Linked DNA regions of Homo sapiens: all the other regions are linked to region 3. The links are contacts of gene promoters, found by promoter capture Hi-C in blood cells and fetal thymus (Javierre and others, 2016). All regions are on one chromosome and are shown on one strand. Each heading gives the region's core, a stretch centred on a gene start or on the middle of the fragment in contact. The rest is flanking DNA. Distances are from core to core; before and after follow the strand shown.

The links. The method cuts DNA at HindIII sites, captures the fragments that hold promoters and counts their contacts. A CHiCAGO score of 5 or more calls a contact.
Region 1: a fragment that was not itself captured here is called in contact with the fragment with the promoter of PRICKLE1 in region 3 in 1 of 17 cell types (megakaryocytes); the score reaches 5.4 in megakaryocytes.
Region 2: a contact is called between a fragment that was not itself captured here and the fragment with the promoter of PRICKLE1 in region 3, in 1 of 17 cell types (M0 macrophages). The highest score is 5.5, in M0 macrophages.
Region 4: a fragment that was not itself captured here is called in contact with the fragment with the promoter of PRICKLE1 in region 3 in 4 of 17 cell types (megakaryocytes, M1 macrophages, M0 macrophages and 1 more); the score reaches 11.5 in megakaryocytes.

The regions. Positions count from the first base shown.
Region 1 is chr12:43,267,056-43,269,755 of GRCh38, forward strand. No RefSeq gene overlaps it. Among named protein-coding and RNA genes, the nearest start is that of LINC02461, 110 kb to the left of the region's middle. The HindIII fragment of the contact is 4,161 bases long and covers 1-2,700 here.
Region 2 is chr12:43,319,168-43,321,867 of GRCh38, forward strand. No RefSeq gene overlaps it. Among named protein-coding and RNA genes, the nearest start is that of LINC02461, 170 kb to the left of the region's middle. The HindIII fragment of the contact is 1,733 bases long and covers 567-2,299 here.
Region 3 is chr12:42,588,450-42,591,168 of GRCh38, forward strand. PRICKLE1 (prickle planar cell polarity protein 1) reads right to left here and starts at 1,297. Exons shown (of 8, transcript NM_153026.3): 1 at 1,016-1,297. RefSeq lists a silencer at 1,301-1,550 and an enhancer at 2,020-2,577. The HindIII fragment of the contact is 6,666 bases long and covers 1-2,719 here.
Region 4 is chr12:43,339,494-43,342,193 of GRCh38, forward strand. No RefSeq gene overlaps it. Among named protein-coding and RNA genes, the nearest start is that of LINC02461, 190 kb to the left of the region's middle. The HindIII fragment of the contact is 3,677 bases long and covers 1-2,700 here.

The DNA.
Region 1 (2,700 bases), core at 156-2,655, 680 kb after region 3:
AGATGAGATTTTGGTGGGGAAACAAAGCCTAATCATATAAATTGTGGTAGCGGTTACATGACTAAATGCATTCATCAAAACCTATTCAAATGTACATTTTAAAGTGTTGGATTTTATTGTATGTAAACTATAACTGAATAAAGCTGATATTTTTAAAGTAGAAAGAAGGCAAAATAAAGACACGTTTGAGCAAAAAAAAAAAAAAATCCTGTGAAGTCAGTGTTATTCTAAATAGAGCATGAAGAGCTTGAGCAAATTTACACAGAACCACAGCAATGAAGGCAAGCCTAGGAAATAAGGACAATAAACTAATATATGTATTAATTTTTAATAAATTCACAAAATATTTATTTAGTAGCTACCATGTCTGTACAGCATTGAGCAAACTAATTGAGATATAATAATTATTTAATCATGGCATTTATCTTCCTGCACCTCAAACTGTAGTTAAAAGATAGACCCATAAATAAGTAATTATTGTGGCATGAGGGTGGATGTTGAAAATATTTTGAAAGTGCTGTGTGAGTATAGTGGACAGAGCTGGGATTTGACTTTAGCCTAAGCCCCATCTTAGTAGGTAACTCAATAAATATTTAGTAATCTGTTGATTGAATTCGAATGCTCTTGATTGAGTATATGCCCTATATCTAGCACTGTCCATGTAGTTGCTTAGAGGAATTTGCCCCCTTGAAGCACTAAATTTTTGGTAAATATTTCATTTTCTCTGAAATTATTTGGAACTCCTGTTATTAAAAATGTTACCCTTATCTCTCACTTAGTTAGACAGTATGAACAGGAAATGAAAATGGAAATAAGATGCAAGATAATTGTTTTACTCTTGAATGTAAATATCTCAGTTTGCCTTGGCCTTTTGCAACTAGCAGTTGGCCACTGTGATAACATTGTTTGGTTGGCATTATCGCTCAGTTTCCTTCCTTGGAGAGAACGTTATGCGGATTGGCTGCAGCTGTGCTCCATCAGATTCTTTTCTTCTAGGCTCCAGGGCCCTTTGACCACTGCTCCTAATTCTCCTCCCTTCCTGCTCAAGTGTATTTCATCTACAATGCATTTAATGTGGAGTTTGACAACTTCTTTTTTCCTGAAAGAAGTATAAGTGCTTTTCTCTTTATGAAATATTTTTCATAGATTAATTGCTTCCTCTTTTATTACAAAATTTCTTGGAATGTCAAATGTATTGAGGAGCACAAGGTCTTTAACTCCCTTTGTCCCAGAGAAGTAAGATTCCCAGCAGACTGCAGATTCTTCCCAAAGTACTGTGGAGGCTTTGGCAAAAAGTGAACATTTCTCAAGTAGTTAAGTGATAATTCAGCAATTCTCATAGAAAATAAGACTCCAGTATTTTTAAAATCTATATTTTAACCATGAAATGTGTTCATCTTCCTCACAAAGATGGTATAGAAAGATACTTTTGAAGCTAGCAATCTTTCTTCTCTTCAAGTGAAATTATGGTGAACCATGTAAGTAAAGTTTATTTGTATATTTCTGACTATTGGTAAATAAAATTAAATGCACACACACATTTATCTTTCAAAGGAATAGCTTCATAACTTTAGTTACAAATACAATTGCAGCTCTTTTTAAATTTATTTATTTTTTTTCCTGCACTATTAGCAGATAGTCCAGTATGCGACCCATGTCCTAAAGGTCTATACTCTCTAGGTATTGTTATAAAGGGCTCTTGCTCCATTTTACTCACAGCAGGAGAAGATAATACCAATTTGATCAAGTCACAATTTTATTGTTTCTCACTGCCATGTGCTATTTTATTCTCCCAAACATCCTGACAGATAGTGCCTGTGCTCTGCTGTGAGAGGTGATTCCATTTCCTTATAGTATAATTGGTAAAGAGTGCCCCACACATGATCTCCTAAGGGTACAGCTTTAAGCACTCATCACTTTTAGTTCAAATTTCTAGCAGCTACCTCCCCATAAACCTAGAATCCTCATATTCCTTTTCTCCCTGGCAACCACATGCATTCTGCTAGAGCTACTTATAATCAGAACTATTAGAATTCCCTTTCAAAGGGACACTCCACTCAGCACTCCCAGAATGATTTCCTGTCCTCACCTGCACCTTGAGATTGCTGGCAACTTTTCTTGTTAAAACAGAGAAATGGACATTGGGAGGCCGAGGCAGGTGGATCGCCTGAGGTTAGGAGTTCGAGACCTGCCTGGCCAACATAGTGAAACCCGTCTCTACTAAAAATACAAAAAATTAGCCAGGCGTAGTGGTGGGTGCCTGTAAGCCCAGCTACTTGGGAAGCTGAGGCAGGAGAATCGCTTGAACCTGGGAGGCAGAGGTTGCAGTGAGCTGAGATCACACCATTGCACTCCAGCCTGGGTGACAGAGCGAGACTCCATCTCAAAAAAGAAAAAAAAAAAAAAGAAACACACACACACAAATTTAATCTCTGGTAGAACAATGCCTTTGATGGGCTATCTCATTATTTGTAAATGTGGTGGTATTATATATGTATGTATATGTATCTATGTACAGTTAGCTCTCGTATCCACAGGTTCAACCATGGATTTAATTGAATCACAAATAGAATACATTCAACAAATAATAATCAAATAACAATACAATAACAAACGATAAAAGTTTAAAAACAGTACAGTATGACTATTTACATAGCATTTACATTGTATTAGGTATTGTATATCATCTAGAGATGATTT
Region 2 (2,700 bases), core at 183-2,682, 730 kb after region 3:
GAGGTCAGGAGTTCGAGACCAGCCTGACCAACATGGAGAAACACCGTCTCTACTAAAAATACAAAATTAGCAGGGCGTAGTGGCACAAGCCTGTAATCCCAGCTACTCAGGAAGCTGAGGCAGGAGAATTGCTTGAACCCGGGAGGTGGAGGTTGCGGTGAGCCGAGATCGTGCCAATGCGCTACAGCCTGGGCAACAAGAGCGAAATTCCTTCTCAAAAAATAATAAATAAATAAATAACATAAAAAATGTCCTAAGTCAGTTTTAAAACTTACAATCACAGAGAAAGCAAGTGAAAAAAAAAATCCATATATTCACATGCTTTGTTCCTAAATTCATGATACAATAAAGGTAAAGAACAAAACATGAGAAGGAAATGAGTGGACAGAAGGTGGGACATTGAATTAGCTACTTTATATGTTCCATTAATGCACTCGGTGAAAAAAATTAATATAATACATTGTCAATTTGTAAATGATATCGATATTTGTTAACCAGGCTTAGAAGCTCTTTTTGGAATGTGTCATATTAGCCATGACAATAACAAGAACAGCTACATATCATTAAGCTTTTAATATATGCCAGATGCAACATGTAGAAAGATTACATTATAAAATAAATATAGTAGAATTTTCCTGATAACCCAGTAAGGCAGATTTTTGTGGAGTTTTTGTTTGTTTGGTTTTTGTTGTTGTTGTTGCTACTGCTTCATCTCATGGTTTGGAAAATGGAAGTTTAGAGAGGTGAATAAAAATTTCCAAGGTTACCAACTAATAAGTGGCAGATCCAAACCCAGACCTTTTTGATTAAAATGGACAGTTGTCAAATTTAACAAATATAGATACAGGACATCCAGTTGTTCGAATTTCAGATGAACAACAAATAATTGTTCGGCATAAGTACGTCCCATGCAATCTTTGGAACACACATATACTAAACAATTATTTGTTGTTTACCTGAAATTCATATTTGTCTGAGTATCCTGTGTTTTGACTGGCAATCCAACTCTAAAGCTGATCAAGTTTCTTAACTCTCCGCTATTCTGACTCTGAAAAACCAGCAAGTCTGACCCAGGACGAAGCAGAAAACAGCCACCACATAGTTTGCTTTCTGGACAAGTAAAGATCAGTGATCACTGTCTAGCTGCCCTTTCAGCGTCATCCAATAGTTCAAACGTTCTCAATCTTAAGAGAGTATAAATATCACCAAGGGTGCTTCTTGAAAATGCAGATTCCCTGCCAGGGCCTTTGGCTAGGCCTAGATGTGTACATTTTTAACAAGAACCCCAGACGTTTCTATGTAGATGGTTCTTGGCCTATTCCCTGAGAAACGCTGGAACATCTGGCCTGCTGAAGAAAAATGTAATCCCATTTGAAAAAGTGCTAGACAAACTAAAAATCATTTTAGGGATTTATGTGGGCTACCAAATGAGGTCTGACCAAAATGATTAGAAATGCAGTCTGGAAAAATATAGGCTGAGAAAAGATCCAGTTGAACATTATATTGTCATGATCCAGAGATCAGAAATATTTTTTAAAGTGGGGTACCCAATTAAATCCAAGGCATATTTGACAGTCTACTACTGTTCTTCTGGACATTGGCCAAGGGAATTAAAGGCTGATTTCCTTGAAAATGCTAGATACATTAAATTTTAATATTTCCTTTTTTCCCTCGTAGGTTACTCATTTTCAATGCAAAGCCTACTCTCTACTAATCAGGCTGGTCATTTAGGGTATAGATGATTCAATCATTATGCCCTTCTTCTAAATTATGTTAGCCTACTGATCTTTAGAACCTTTGTGTAGACTAAGACATTAAAATCAGAATCAATTTGAGTAAATTAGTGTAACTAAACGCTTTTCACCTAAATGCTATATAAGAGTTCAAATCCTAAGAAATCTTATAATGATACAGCTCAGTTACTTTGTAATTTTACCTCACCACATTTTTTTACAGACAGGGTCTTGCTATGTTGCCCAGGCTGGTATCACACTCCTGAGCTCAATGGACTCTCCCACTCATGAGTAGCTGGGACTACAGGCTCATGCCACTACGCCCAACTCTTTATCTCTCCTTATTCTTTCTAATGTTACCTATAACCATTTTGGTATCTGGATTCTTAACTGTTACACTCTATTTCCTTACCTTATATGTCCACAGCATTTAAAAATCTGTTATTTCAGTAACAAGATGACTATTTAAAAAAAAATTCACATCAGCAACAATCCTACCATTCCTAATTTGCTGTTTTATGCCTCCTAGGAAGAACAGAAGGCCATCAGTAGATAATAACTGACCAAGCTTTTAAAAGTTATTGAATCATCTTCATTTTACATATTATACAAATGATTTTCCCAAAGTTTCTGTTTGTATGCTGAAATACCACATCAAATAGGTTTGGATCTGCAGTAAATATCAGAGCCATGCCTCAAGTAAATAGGCATAGTGAATCTTCAGAGGGATTATTAGGTAAGTGTATTAGTCTGTTCTCATGCTGCTAATAAAGACATACCCAAGACTGGGTAACTTATAAAGAAAAAGAGGTTTAATGGATTTACAGTTTCATATGGCTAGAGAGGCGTGACAATCATGGCAGAAAGCAAAGGAGAAGCAAAGGCATGTCTCGCATGGCAGCAGGCATGTCTCGCATGTGTGCAGGGGAACTGCCCTTTATAAAATCATCAGATCTCGTGAGGCTTA
Region 3 (2,719 bases), core at 47-2,546:
AATGCATGTTAACTCTGCAGGAGAGGCAGATTTTTACATGTTTTTTTGGTTGTAGTTGTTGGTGCTTTTTTTTTTTCCTTTAGGCTGGTTCCCGTGGTGTGTTTGCCTTGTTCATGGTCTCAGTTCTGCCGCTGATACCCTTTTAAAAATCAGCAACCAAACGCGTTCGGCTTGTGATCCTGAACCCTCCTTAGGCAAGCTGGAACTAAGCGTGATGCAGCCGTCCTCCCTCTCTCCCAACCCCCAACCTCGTTCTTCAGCCTCCTGAAGACAATCTGTGAACAATTTTCCCAAAGTCCCAAGAATAACACAGCACTGCCAATAGTCACTGGCGATGCCGTTTGTTTTTCTTAGAGGGTAATGAAAATTTAACAGCTTTCTGCTGCATCCTGAGTCCCGCTCCTAATAACTATTAACATGCCTAGTTTCTTCAACTTTTTCTACCTCAAGAGAGGAAGACGCTCCCATTTTTTCCCTATATCTGTGCTACATTCAGCAAACACCATCGCGGGGCAGGGGGTTGGGGAGAGTGGTGGGAGTTGATTCGCCTCTGCCAAAAAGCCACCAGCCCCTTTCCCCAGCGCTAGAGGAGAGAATCGGTACCCTCCCTCCGGACGCCAGTAGGTGACAGGCGATCCTAAGCGGCGGGAACACGCCAACGCACCCTCGCCTCCCGGCGCCCCGCATCGCCTCGACCCTCGGGCTACAGAACCTGTTTCCACGCCGGAGAAAACCAAGGGAAGAGTTGGTTGTGATGCAGCAAACAGGAGCCATGCGGAGAGCCTCTGCGGAGCCCTGGCGATGCTGCAGCCAATATCTGCTTTCCCTGTCTACACAGCCCAACAAACCGATTATGACCTTCTCCCTGATCTTCTGCGACACCGACCCAGTCTGGGTGTCACAGACTCCGGCGGTGCCAGCGAAGGTGCCCGGCCCTACCCCTGCGGCGCTCGCCCCCCACCACCGCGCCGCAGCCCCCTCTGCGGAATCCGCCGGGATCCAGGCTGCCACTCACCTCGCGCGAGGGAGACGCAACTCGGCTGCACTGTCCTCGGCGCCGCTGCGGGGCTGCTGGGCTGCGGGGCTGCGGGGCTGAGGAGCTGCGGTCCGCGGCGTCAGGGGTGGGCGAGGGTGAGCAGCGCACGAACCATCCAGAGCCCAGAAAGTCTCCGTGCCGACCGCGGCGCGTCTCGGGGAAGTCAGCGCAGGCTGCGCGAGGCTGGCATGTTCCGGGCGCGCTGTCGGGCGGCGGCGGCCGCGGGAGACGGCGCTGGCAGCTGGGCTGCAGGCGGAGTGCGCTCGGGCTCCGGAGCCGCGCGCTGCGGCGCCGCCGCGCACCCCGCCCTCGGCCGCGGGGCCCGGCGCGAGCGAAAACGCGGAGCGCGGACGCCGCCGCGGGATCGAGGCCGCTGGGCGCGCGCCCACGCGTACCCCGGCTCGGCCCTGAAAGCGAGGTCGGGCCCGGCTCGGGCCGCGCCCGGGGGCAGGGCTGCGAGCAGGCCTGGGACCGGCTCCACGCGCAGCCAGTGGGGCAGAGCAGCAGGCGGATTATGCGCAGGGAGAAAAAAGTTCACCAACCGCGGTCCAGAGTCGCAAGTGCGGCTCGCTCGGAGCCTCTGCCCCGCCCCCGATTATAAGCCTTTTTTTTTTTTTTTTTTTAACCAACAATCCCGATGGACTGAAACACAGGAAGAGTGAAGGGACGGGGTGGGGGGTGGGGGAGAGACAAACCCAATTTCCTCTGATCAAACGATTTGGGTAGGGGTGCCTATTTGAGTTCCTTCTCCTTCGGGGGGTGTGTGAAGGGGGCAGTTAATTAAACACTTAGATTCCTTCCGGCGCGCCTTGCCGAGCTGGGGACCCGTTTGGACTCGATCCTGTCTCGTGTAATCCCACAGGCTGGTCTGAGTCTCTGCCCCGGAACCGGAGGAGTGATCTTTCAGAGCAAGAAGCCAAAGTTCAGCCTCTAGTCCGTTCCCTTCCCCGCCTCGACGGCCCTGGTCGTCTCCATGAAAACTCAGTGTGGGGGATCGTGCCCGCGAAAACCTCAGCCCACCGCAATGTCCAGAGCCTGACCCAAGTGAACGTGGCGCACTTAAAAGCGGGTTCAAAGCATTGATCCGAACACGGTGACAATTTTTCACTGGCCAAACTACTCTCCACATTTTCAGTCTGCTCAATTCCCAGAGCTGGGCTCTCAGGCGCACTCACCCACGTTGAACTGGGGCTCAGCCTGTTTGAAAGTTCTGCCCTGACATTTGTGTCACACTAAACCTTAGAACCCCCCACCCTCTCCAGTTCCGGATCGGTGGAGTCTCACCGTGTGGGTACTATTTCCCTGGACTGCAGAGGGCAGACACAGGCGGCAGCTGTTAACCCGAACTTGACAGGTGCCTCTGCAAAGCCAGGGCTTCCTTGACCTCTCCATCCTCTCCACAACGCTCTAGGATACTGTATCATCTTCCAGGAAGATGAGGATGTGTGTGGGGGGAGTGTGGAGGGAGGTGTTGACTGATGCAATTTTTATCCTTTTAAGAAAAATCAAAACTGCCAGTCTCAGAATTTCTCAGAACATCAAGTCTTTTCGATTTTCGTTGGGAATAAAGCAAAGGAATACTCAGCAAAAATGGAGCCGATGAAAAGAGAATGCAAGGAAATAAAGGCAAATGGAGGAGGAAACTGTCTAAATCCAGGAAAATGTATGGCTTCAGCACTGTGC
Region 4 (2,700 bases), core at 177-2,676, 750 kb after region 3:
GACCCCAACCTGAATGAGCTATAAGCCCTTTCCCATTCTAGACCCAATTCATAGAACTCACACACTGTCCCATAATTCAGTATAAGAGCCAACGCAGTGTTTTTAGTTGTAGAATATGTTGCCTCAGAACCCGAAGAAGTCTTCCAGCTATTTTGCTCTCTTTTTCATGGTAAGAGCTGTAAGATACGAAGGTTTGATTTTTATCAGGACAGGATGTCCCAGCAGAGCTCTGATCACTAAAATCCCTAAACTCATAGGTTTCTGTCAGGTTTCTGACATTTTTATGGGGTTTATCTCCCCTCCTCTGCAGTGGGTATGTTTTATTTAACAAGACCTCCATCATCCACTTCTTGCTCATCTAATCCAGTCTACATATAACCATCAATGTAATGGATCAATGTGATGATCAAAGATGACCACATGATCCATATTTCTTTGGAGTATGACTGTCACAGAAGATGAGAAAATTAATACAGTCTTGAGGTGAAGCATAATTGTAAATGTAACTTTTTGGGTCCAATCCATGTGATTATTAACTATTTCTAATCTTCTTTCCTTTTGGGGATAGAAAAGAACAAATTTGGTAAATCAGTGGCTGCAGACCATGTGTCTGAGGTCATATTAATCTGTTATAGCAAAGATACCACTTCTGCCACCAAGACTGTGTTGACAATTACTATTTGGTTGAGTTTGTGGTAGGCTATAGTCATCTTCTAGGATTCATCCAGTTTCTTCAGCATACAAACTGGTGAATTAAATGGAAATAAGATGGGAAACACTATCCCCGGAACCTGGATTCATTAGATCCTTAAGGGCACTAATCTCTGCCATCCTCCCTCAATATCACTACCTCCACAATGTGATAAGACTTCCAGACTGGGTGTGAGATTTGGAGACCTCCATCTTCCCTACTATGACAAATCTCACCCCACAGGCCAAGGACCCAATGTGAAATTGTACCAACTGCCATGTGTTTCAATCCCAGTTGTACCTTCAGATTAGAGGAATGATCACCAGGTGGACCTATGGATCTATGGACCTAGCGAACCCCATATAAATCAGAACATAGCCAGGATTCCATTTATTATCTGGACCCCATCCTAATGGTTATGATGACATTTCATGTCTCCAGATGTAAGTATTATCTCAGACACAGTATCTAATGGTCTCTGAAATGCATAGACGTTCCCATTTCCTTAGTGCACAATATCTGAGTAAATGTCCATAGATGTTTCAGAGGAAGGATTGGGAAAACTATTAGCATATAAATTCACTGGGGTTTGGCAGTCTTTCCTCCTGGGGACCAAGCCACTCCTCAGTCAATGGGTGTTGAGTCTGAAAATTGCCTCAAGTCCAAAAATTTGGCAAAGAATGACTGTGCTTGGCCTCTTTTGATGTCTTCTACTGGTAGACGCTGAGTAATGCCCTTGTTGACTCCCCTCATATTTTGACCCTTTAGATAACGTGTTCTGTTGACTATCTCCATAACTCTCAGCAGGGCAGGCCCCCTCAAATGCCACTTCTCCAGCTTCTGCCAGTACATGTTGGCTAGGTCTTGCAGCTCCTTTGGGAAATATCTCTTTTCCTTTGTTATAAAGCCCAGTAAGTCCCTAGCTGGGTCATGCTGTGACTTAATCCTACTTATAGGTCCAGTGTCCTAGTGCCCAGGAGGAGAGGGAAGGGCAGATCCAGAAAGAGGTACCTAAAACTTTGTGGAAGAGGGGCCTCTGCATCATCTTCCAGAATGCAGGGTGTACTGGTTCATACTAGGGAGAGGCTGGCCATTCCTGTAGGCTCAGAAAGTTCAGAAGTCTTTCAGTTCAAAACATCTGGAGGAATATCAGGCCAGATGATTCTCTTCATGTGTCCCAGGGTTTCCCAAACAGGTCCTATCCTTAGTTTGTCTTCTTTTTGCTTCCTTTTGTTGCTAACATTGATCTTACAAGCTGTGATCGTGTTTTGCTTTTATTTAAAATTACAAAATATACTGAGTCTTTCTCCAACCTACAAGTTGTTTGGAAGTTTTGTTTTTAATATCCAAATTAAATTTTCTGACACCATTACATTTTCACATTTTTTCTTGTAGTTCTGTCCATTTTTACTTTTTATATTTTGAAGCTATGAGTTTGGGTGCGTGGGTTCAGGATTGCCCTAAGTTTCTGATAAATATTTTCTCTGGTTGTGTCAGAGGCATTTGAACCAGAGTGACTCCATCTTGAATAGGGGCTGTGTAAAATAAGACTGAGACCTATTGGGCTGCATTCCCAGGAGGCTAGGCATTCTTAATTACAGGATGAGATAGGAAGTTGGCACAAGATACAGGTCACAAAGATCTTGCTTATAAAACAGGTCGTGGTAAAGAAGCCGGCCAAAACCCCCCAAAACCAAGAGGGCAATGAAAGTAACCTCTGGTCATCCTCACTCCTCATTATATGCTAATTATAATGCATTAGCATACTGAAAGACACTCCCATCAACAACATGACAGTTTACAAATGCCATGGCAACATCAGGAAGTTACCCTACATGGTCTAAAAAGGGGAGGAACCCTCAGTTCCAGGAATTGCGCACCCCTTTCCTAGAAAACTCATGAATAATCTACCCTTTGTTAAGCATATAATGAAAAAATAAAGTATTCTTACACAAGCAGCCCATGCTGCTGCTCTGCCTATGGAGTAGCCATTTTTTATTCCTTTACTT